Regions from separate parts of the Homo sapiens genome. Here all the other regions are linked to region 3. Evidence: promoter capture Hi-C in 16 types of primary human blood cells and fetal thymus (Javierre and others, 2016). All regions are on one chromosome and are shown on one strand. Each heading gives the region's core, a stretch centred on a gene start or on the middle of the fragment in contact. The rest is flanking DNA. Distances are from core to core; before and after follow the strand shown. Region 1 holds the start of PIKFYVE (phosphoinositide kinase, FYVE-type zinc finger containing). Region 2 has its middle 10 kb from the start of FZD5. Region 3 holds the start of PLEKHM3 (pleckstrin homology domain containing M3).

Region 1 (3,149 bases), core at 166-2,665, 240 kb before region 3:
CCGAGTGTGGTGTCGCGCGCCTGCAATCTAGCTACTCAGGAGGCTGAGGCAGGAGAATCGCCTGAACCCTGGGAGGCGGAGGTTGCAGTCGGAGGAGATCGCGCCACTGCACTCCAACCTGGGGGACAGAGCGAGACTCTGTCTCTCAAAAAAAAAAAAAAAAAAAACTGGCAATGTAATAATTTAGGAAAGCTGAATATTGGAAATGTTAGCTTCTATCAACAAAGATTTCTTGTTCAATTTTTGACCAACACGCTTAAAGGAAAACCAGAGCAGGATCCAGAAAGCAGAAAAAGGGAGAACACAGGAAATTAGCCTTGCTCCACAGAAGAGATTTAACCTACACAATCTTTGTCACAAACACAAAAGAAAGAACATTTTTTGTAAGAAAACTGACAGAGTGGGAGTTTTGGAGTGCCAAAAAAGGGGCTCAAATAAATCAGAAATAAGTACATTATACCAAGCGACTACCTCTATTGTCAACACTGGACATATTTTACAACACAGGATGCACTGCGTCAATAGTAGATAATGAATCATGTATACACATCAGATACACACGAATAACTTGCTTTATACAGAATTCTAGCACTTCTTATATTTCTTGACTGTCTTAGGAATAACCTCTGATTGGGCAGAAAACCCCTAAGTCCTAAAAGTTTCCAACACATTCCATTCTCATCCTTTTGTTGGGAACATTCTAAGCAAAGGGTAAACACTAATTGGGAAATAATGCTCCTCCTCAAGAAACTCCAAAACCTAAGTTGAAATGGAATCGTCTCAAATAGCAGAGGCAAGCATTTAAAAAGACAAACACTTATTTGAACCCCCACGGTTGGTATCGTTTCTGCAGCTCATGAACTTTCTTTTCCAGCCTACGGATGCGCCTCTGACAAACTCAGAACTCATGCACTCAGAGGGAAAAGTAACTGTACTCTTCCCCTCCTAATTAAGTTCAGGCGTAAGGGTCGAGAGAGAGGCAAAGGAACTTCAAATGTTTCCAAGGAAATCTCAAGGGCCCCACCCGGCTTCCGTCCCCACTCGCCAGACAAGGCAGCCGGGGAATAGGGAGGACAAGCTAATTCTAAAGCCAGATTCTCTGCCCTTCCTTGCTCAGCCGGCAGCCAGGCCCTAGCCCCCGACTGCGGAGCCCTGGTTCTCACTTTCACCTCAGCTCTGGCCCTGGAGCTCCCCATACCGGCCTCCTTCCCATGCTGAGCCCCAGCCGGCCAAGCTCCAGGCCCCCTCCCTTACCTGCGCCTCCTGCCCCGGCCGCGCCGGCTGCCCCCCGCCCCAGCCTCCGCTTCAACGGCTCAGCCCCCGGAAGTCGGCCCCCGAGAGCGGCGGTGGGCTCCTCAGGCCGCGGACGGTTGCGGCAGGAAGCGAAGCTGCTTACATGGTTGATGCGGCTTCTCGCTTCCCCCCCCCAAGACTCCGCCCTCTGTTTTCCTGTCCCCCAGTCCGAAATCTTTCCCGGGGGCCGGCTCCTCCCAGCCCGGCCGACGCTCGGATCAGATGCTCAGGCAGAAGGAGTCCAGCCCAGATCGAGTCGTCCTGATCTTTTGGCCGAGATTAGGCCGCTTCAGCCTTCCTGGAAGAAGCCAGGGGGACTGCGCGCGTGAGCGTCACGCATGCGGGGTCAACGGATGGGTGCTTGGTGCTCTGGGCACTGCAGGGGTGCTGGCTGGACTGCGGTTACCGTATGTGTTCGATACTGTGGGCACTCATAATATGTTATTGCTTTGTTGTAGACAGTTCACTCGTGTAGCACTGAACCGGAGTTAGCGATGACTCTGTTTCCAGACTTGCATGACTCCACCAATAACCAGCCATATGATCTTAAGCAAATTGCTCATTTATTTAGGCCTTAGACCTCTGGTGTGTAAAGTCGGATTAATAAAAGGACTCACTTCTTAATACTTTTTTGAGATTAAGTAAATGCACTTAAAGCGAATGGCACAGTTCCCTGACCCAGAGTAAGTGATGTCGGCTTTATAGTTAATTTTTTCATTTAGGTGTTGTGTTGCAAATGCTGATGCAAATAAAGTTACCAAGCCCAAGCCCTATCTTGTTCAGCTTGGCTAGAGTTATTCGTCATTTCTGTCCTGCTGAGAGCGCAGTGCAGTTAACTGCAGAAAACATGCTCGCCGCAGTTGTGGGGCTTGGTAGGGGAGGATGGAAAGCAGACGAAACCTAAAGGGAAATGCAGTTTTAAATTCTGTGAGTCCTTTTCCTCAAGAGTTTTGTCAAATCCCAGCCCAGTTTTCCTGGAGTTGGAAAGCACCATCGAAACCTGCAGGTTGAGTCCAGTGCAAATCCCAGTCACCATCCTCAGCTGGGCCCTTCAGCAATCTTTCTGGGAGTCTGTAGTCAGCTTCTCCCATTCCTTATTACTGCTGCGTCAGACCACCACCACGACCCCCACATTACCTTGACCATCATTCTCATCAGAGAATCATATTTTATACCCACGTGAAAAATCCCAAGGTATCTGGGCGTGACCCTTAACAAGCTAATTCCCCACACACCACAACATTTACCTACATCCACATCTGCCCTGGTCTGCCTTTCTCCCTCATCTCTCTGAGGAAGGGGCCTCTTCTTCCCCAGCTCAATCCTTTTGGCCCCCAATTCACCCTCTCCTGTCTGGGAGCTTGCACCGTATCTGCAACCTCCCCTTTTCCAATGACTCTGCCTCCTCAGCCCATAAAGATGCTCAAGTCTCTGCCTTCCTTTAAAAAAATTTTTTTTAAAAATTTAAGATAAGCAAAAAAGGCCCTCGTAATTATCACCCTATGTTAATATTTCATAAACCTACAATAAAGTATGAAATAGGTACAGAGATCATATGAAAAGAATAAATTGCCCAGCCACGACGACTGCAGTGTATGTAGAAACTCCATCTATGGTTTAAAAAAAAAAAAAAAAAGTGCACTCCGCAAATATTTTTGAGTCCCTAATTTAACCTGCAGTGTGTTAGTTATAGAAGCACTACACTAAGGATAGAATTATGAACGTATCCCACTGCTTCACTTGACTAGCCTAAAAAATAAAAATATATGTGAACATTACACAGTCCATGTCCTCAAGAAGCTTACCGTCTAATATCTATATTAGCTTACAGTTTAATTTCTGTGGAAAAGAGATTG
Region 2 (2,809 bases), core at 141-2,640, 250 kb after region 3:
CTTGTGACGAATGTTAAACCAAATAATAGTAGTAACATTACTGGCCACAAAGTTATATTTACAAAGGCTGCAGACTTGCACATCTGAGGGCGAGAACAGATAAGTCAAAGCCCCTACTTGCCCAGGGAAGCGTTACCTGGAGTTTCCCCAGGAGTATTTGGACTCTCTAATTTTCTCTCATTCAGTTTAAGTTTATCCAAAATCTTCTTTGACCCATTTCTTCATCTGTAAAATGAGGAGGTAAAAACCACAGGATCATCAAGATCCATTCCAGCATACATAGGTGACTGTGATTTTTCCCACCATTATCCCCGCTCATTACACTGTATATCGAAAGAATGAAATCGATGTGGCATTAATCTTTGCCCAAGTATTTAATAGCAGAGGTAAGATGGCACAGATATTTAAAATAAAACCACAATAGAGTTACAGCAAGAGGAATCCCTGCAAGTGAAGCATTGCCAATTACACACTGAGTGGCCCTAGGCGAGCTACTCAATCTCTTTATGCCTAGGTTTCCTCATCTGTAAAATCGGGAAAATAAAATAACCTATTATTACTGGGTGTTGTGAGGATTGAATGAGATAATGCATGAAGCATTTAGCTAGGGGCTTGGTACATAGAAAGCACTCCATAAATCTTTTATTGCCATCTGCAAATATGATTTTGGCAACCCTCAGGATGGCAGATTTTCTTTCACTAAGAGGTGAATCTGAGAAAAGTTGTTGTATTTTAAATATGTTGGTGTGTGGGCTTTGGGGTTTTTAAAAAAACTTTTAGGTTCGTGGGGTATGTGTGCAGGTTTGTTACATGGGTAAATTGTGTGTCACTGAGGTTTGGTGTATGAATTATCCCATCATGCAGAGAGTGAACATAGTACCAGAAATTAGCTGGGTGTGGTGGCAGGCACCTGTAATCCTAGCTACTTAGGAGGCTGAGGCAGGAGAATTGCTTAAACCTGAGAAGTGGAGGTGTCAGTGAGCAGAGAATGCGCCACTGCACTCCAGCCTGGGTGACAGAGTGAGACCCTGTCTCAAAAGAAGTTCCCTGGTCTCGAACTCCCGACCTCAGGTGATCCATCCGCCTTGGCCTCCCAAAATGCTGAGATTACAGGCATGAGCCACCATGCCTGGCCTGCCTCTTGCAGAATTAGTCTCTTGCAGAGACTATTTTTTTTTTAAAGCTTGGAACTAAATCTGTGACTAATTAGAATGGAGTGTTCCACCACCTTTAAGTCACCAACTAAAATCCACTGCTCCATGTCCCGGTGCGCACGAGGCCTTCTGGGTGACCAGCTCAAAGGAAAATTATTGTCTCAACTTAGGTCTCTGTGTGTAGGTACCCACAGAATGGAAATCGCTTTACTTGGGGAAGAACAAGAGGACAAGATGAGATAAAAAGGAAGCATGTTTAAATGGATAAAAGAAGGTACTTTTTTCCCCCACTACACACAATTGACCTGGGGAACTCACTGCAGCAGGATATTAAGATCAATGGTGAAGATTTGTGTTTTAAAGGATTAGACATTTCACATGCATATCATCAACAGTGAGGCTCAATAGGATAAAAGTACAGCGGATGAAAGTTCTCAAGCTTCAGTGTATAAGTTGATCACCAACTGGGTCAGGCAAAAAGAAAAAAGTTGTCTACCTGATTATCTAAGATGTCAAGGGACGGTGGGTTTGGGGGTATTTGGGCATTCCAGTTACCACTACTGTGTAACAAACCACTCCAAATTAGTGGTGTAAAACAAGAGCCATTTAATTATGCTCACGGATGCTGCAAATCAGGAAGCGGGAGAGGGCACAGTGGGGATGGCTAGTCTCTGCCCCATGCTATCTGGGGCCTCAGATGGGAAGACTTGAACGACAGGGAGTGGCTTGAGGCTGGGGGTAGAATCATCAGGGAGCTTCTTTAGTCATGTGCCTGACACCTGGCCTGGGATGACCCCGTCTCTACAAAGAAAACAAACATTAGCCGGGCGTGGTGGCGCATGCCTGTAGTTCCATCTACTCAGGAGGCTGGGGTGGGAGGATTGCTTGAGCCTGGGAGGTTGAGGCTACAGTGAGCCGTGGTCGTGCCACTGCACTCCAGCCTGAGAGACAGATTGAGACCCCGTCGCAAAGAAAAAAAGAAAAAGAAAAAATGGAAAAAAAAAAAAAAAAAAAAAAGGCCGGGCATGGTGGCTCACGCCTGTAATCCCAGCACTTTGGGAGGCTGAGGCAGGTGGATCACGAGATCAGGAGATCGAGACCATTCTGGCTAACACGGTGAAACCCTGTCTCTACTAAAAATACAAAAAATTAGCCTGGCGTGGTGGCCTGTAGTCCCAGCTACTCAGGAGGCTGAGGCGGGAGAATGGTGTGAACCCGGGAGGCGGAGCTTGCAGTGAGCTGAGGTCATGCCACTGCACTCCAGCCTGGGGACAGAGCGAGACTCCGTCTCAAAAAAAGAAAAAGAAAAAGAAAAAGAAATGGAAAAAAAAGAGGGGCAGGAGGGAGCAACATGGTCAACTGGACCAACTGTGTATTATGTCTTTGGGCTTGGACTGGAGTTCCTGCCTCCACTGAAGCACATGGCGGTGAAAAGAAGGGTAGATGCCTACAAATCAAAACACAAAAAAACCAACTGGGGTTCTGTTAGGAAACTGAAAGGAGAGATGACTCGGGCAGTAATCAACAGTGTTTGTAGCATGAAGCCTGGGGAAGGTTAAGGCTCTGTTTTCTTTGTGGGTATCACCCAACACTCTTGTTTTTTCTCTCTTGTGCTCTTTGCTCCTTTCCTCTGTCCTTTTGCATTAGTAATGAGT
Region 3 (2,994 bases), core at 240-2,739:
GTAAGAGGATGGGCCAGGAGTGAGAACTCTCATCAGAGGGAATCACATGTACAAAGTCCTGAGGCAAAAGAGAATACTGCAAATATTCTCTTTTGGTAATTAAAACAAAACAAAACAAAAAATGTACCTCTGGCCAGGTGAGGTGGCTCACACCTGTAATCCCAGCACTTTGGAAGGCAAGGAAGAAGGATTGCCTGAGGCCAGGAGTTCAGGATCATCCTGGGCAACACAGGGAGACCTTGCCTTTACAAAAAAAAAAAAAAGAGAAAGAAAGAAAAAAGAAGTTAGCCACGTTGTGGTGATGCGTGCCTGTAGTCCTAGCTACTCAGGAGGCTGAGTTGGGGGGATCCCTTGAACCCAGGAGTTCAGGGCTGCAGTGAGCTATGATCGTGCGACTGCACTCTGGCCGGGGCACAGAGTGAGATCCTGTCTCTAGCAAAACAGAAAAAAAAGTACCTCAAATTGCAGGGTTTAAAGAAAGCTTATTTAAACTTTGAATATCAACCAAAGGAAATTTTTTCTTAACTCAAAGCTTAAAGATTTGCTTATTAATCTTCTGGAGGGTGGGAAGGTGGGAAGAGGAATCAGAGTTTTAGATTTCTGTTTCATCCCTGACCCCTTTGACCTTTTTTTTTTTTTATCATTCCTTTGTTCATTCATTTATTCAGATATATATACATTGGGCCTGTGCTAGGTGCCTACTAGATGGTGGTGAGTGAAACTGAAATAGTGCCTGCCCTCAGGGAGTTTATAGGTGAGATGGGTGAGCGTGGGAAAACCAATAAAACTGATAAATAAGTGTGTACTTATAAAGTGAGAAAATGGCTAAGAAGTGTGCTATGATGGAAAACAGACAGGAAACTGCAAGGAAGGTCTGTCCAATCAGACCAGCATATCCCTGCAAAGCGACCACAGTCACTGCAGGTGGGATGTGGGCGGTCTTACCAGGCAGTCCTGCCCGCGTGCACACACACGCACACCCTATTTTGCTGGGAATCCGCAAGTGGGGGTGAAGACCTCACCTCAAAACCACCCCTTTTCAACCTGCGTAGGAAAGGACAGTGAAAACGGATTTTCACTGCAGCCCCAAAACCGGAAATGAGAAGCAATCTCCAGAATAGTCCCACTTTTGGAAAGAACTTATTTGAGTAATTAATTCCCTTAGACAAGGGAGCTGCTAAAAACCAGCCCGATCCTGACATGTTCTAAGTGACATTTTCCAATCGCAAACACCCATTTTGGCGTTGGGTGGAGCAGTGAGGAGACTCCACGACACACGCCATTGCTTTCACAATGTGTACAAGAGGAACTGTATATAAGAAAGCAAAGAAATAAGGAGGCCTGGCGGGTGCGGTCAGGCCTTGCCTAGCTGCCGGGTCCCTCGGGCAGGAAAGACTCGTCCTCGCGGCCTGGAACCTTGTGTGTCCGGCTCTGGCTGCCCGGGCCGCCGGCGGAAGCATTTCAGAGTGGGACCGCGAGAAGCCGCTTGTAAACAGAGCCGGGCCGGGATGGTCAGCGCCCGGGCGGGCTGTCACCGTGAGGCGGGCGGCAGGCTGCGGGAGTCAAGCCCCTCCAGGAGCGGACTGAAGGCCCCGCAGGTGAATGGAGAGTAGCAGCCGGGGCCCAGGTGAGCATCCGTCTGCTTCTGTGCTGCCTGGCCGGCCAGTTTGGGGGATGGGGTGGGGACGACTGCATTGTAAATATCCGAGCAGCTCCCAGGGATAGCAGTGATTTTGCTGTTTCTTGCATGCTCAGGTTTTTATTACGTGCTGGAGATTGTACCACACTGCAATGGCTAATGGGTGAGGGGAGATTACATGATGCATTGTCTGCTTATTTTTGTGAATCAGGTATGTAATAGGAGGAGAAAGTAGTTGAAATAGTAGGTGATCTTGTTGAGTGCGTTATTAGTATCCCTGCCATCCCCGCCTGGGGATTATAAAACCAAACCCCAGCAGAGCTTTTAACCTACATCAGGCTGGGGCTTCCAGAAAACGATTGTTCTTTCTGTCGACTCTGTCCGTTTTTAATGTATAGTAAATGACACCACATGACTGATGACAAGCATGGTTTGGTCTTGTAGGAAAGAATTATTAAGCTAAAAAATCAAGATAAGAAAATCTCACACTCATCCCTTAAACAAAAATAAATTACTACTGAGATATATATTTGGATGACAAATTGAGACTGGTCTGGATGTATACCTTGCAAAGCAAGACAAATTTGAATTTACCAGGTTAAACTGAGATTGAGCCATGCTGTTGTAAACTTATTTAGAAGTTTATTTCTCTCTTCTTTTTTCTTCCTTGGAAGGGACCAGAGAGAAACAGCTGAATTTTTTTCTCTATATTTTAAGTAATCGTAGTGAGTTGTGATTTGTATTTATAAAGTATTTTATTATAAAATACTACATGTAAATTATAATTGGCATACTTAAAATACAAGGCAGTTTTTGACTGACTGACTTCAAGAAAATGCCTTAACAAAAGCTGGGCTATATATCTAGTCTCTAAAAATATCAGTAGACATTTGTAACCTTGGTCACATAGTCTTTTAGACAGGAGATGAATATTAGGTTAAATTGCACCTACAATAGATAGATATACATAGAAGAAATGATACTAATTCCTGATGAGTTTTTCTTTACAATGAATATTTTTACAATGTCATGGTTTATAGCAAAAACTATAAAGCCAGACTACTTCAGTTTGAATTCCTGCTTGGTCACTTCCTAGTTGTGTAATCTTGGGCAGTTTACTTAGCGCTTCTGTTTCCTAATCTGTAGAATGGGAATAATAATAGTATTGACCTCATTAGGGTTTTTATTATTGTTATTTTATTTTATTTTATTTTATTTTATTTTATTTTATTTTGAGACAGGGTCTTACTCTGTCATTCGGGCTGGAGTACAGTGGCGTGATCATGGCTCACTGCAGTCTCGACTTCCTGGACTCAAGCGATCCTTCCACCTCAGCCTCCCTTGTGGCTGGAACC

Evidence for each region. The method cuts DNA at HindIII sites, captures the fragments that hold promoters and counts their contacts. A CHiCAGO score of 5 or more calls a contact.
Region 1: a contact is called between the fragment with the promoter of PIKFYVE here and the fragment with the promoter of PLEKHM3 in region 3, in 5 of 17 cell types (total CD4 T cells, total CD8 T cells, fetal thymus and 2 more). The highest score is 7.8, in total CD4 T cells.
Region 2: a fragment that was not itself captured here is called in contact with the fragment with the promoter of PLEKHM3 in region 3 in 1 of 17 cell types (erythroblasts); the score reaches 5.7 in erythroblasts.

What each region holds. Positions count from the first base shown.
Region 1 is chr2:208,264,521-208,267,669 of GRCh38, reverse strand. It overlaps PIKFYVE (phosphoinositide kinase, FYVE-type zinc finger containing), which reads right to left and starts at 1,415. Exons shown (of 42, transcript NM_015040.4): 1 at 1,255-1,415. RefSeq lists a silencer at 1,129-1,398 and an enhancer at 1,529-1,578. The HindIII fragment of the contact is 8,601 bases long and covers 1-3,095 here.
Region 2 is chr2:207,778,867-207,781,675 of GRCh38, reverse strand. No RefSeq gene overlaps it. Among named protein-coding and RNA genes, the nearest start is that of FZD5, 10 kb to the right of the region's middle. The HindIII fragment of the contact is 410 bases long and covers 1,186-1,595 here.
Region 3 is chr2:208,024,022-208,027,015 of GRCh38, reverse strand. It overlaps PLEKHM3 (pleckstrin homology domain containing M3), which reads left to right and starts at 1,489. Exons shown (of 8, transcript NM_001080475.3): 1 at 1,489-1,627. The HindIII fragment of the contact is 3,995 bases long and covers 535-2,994 here.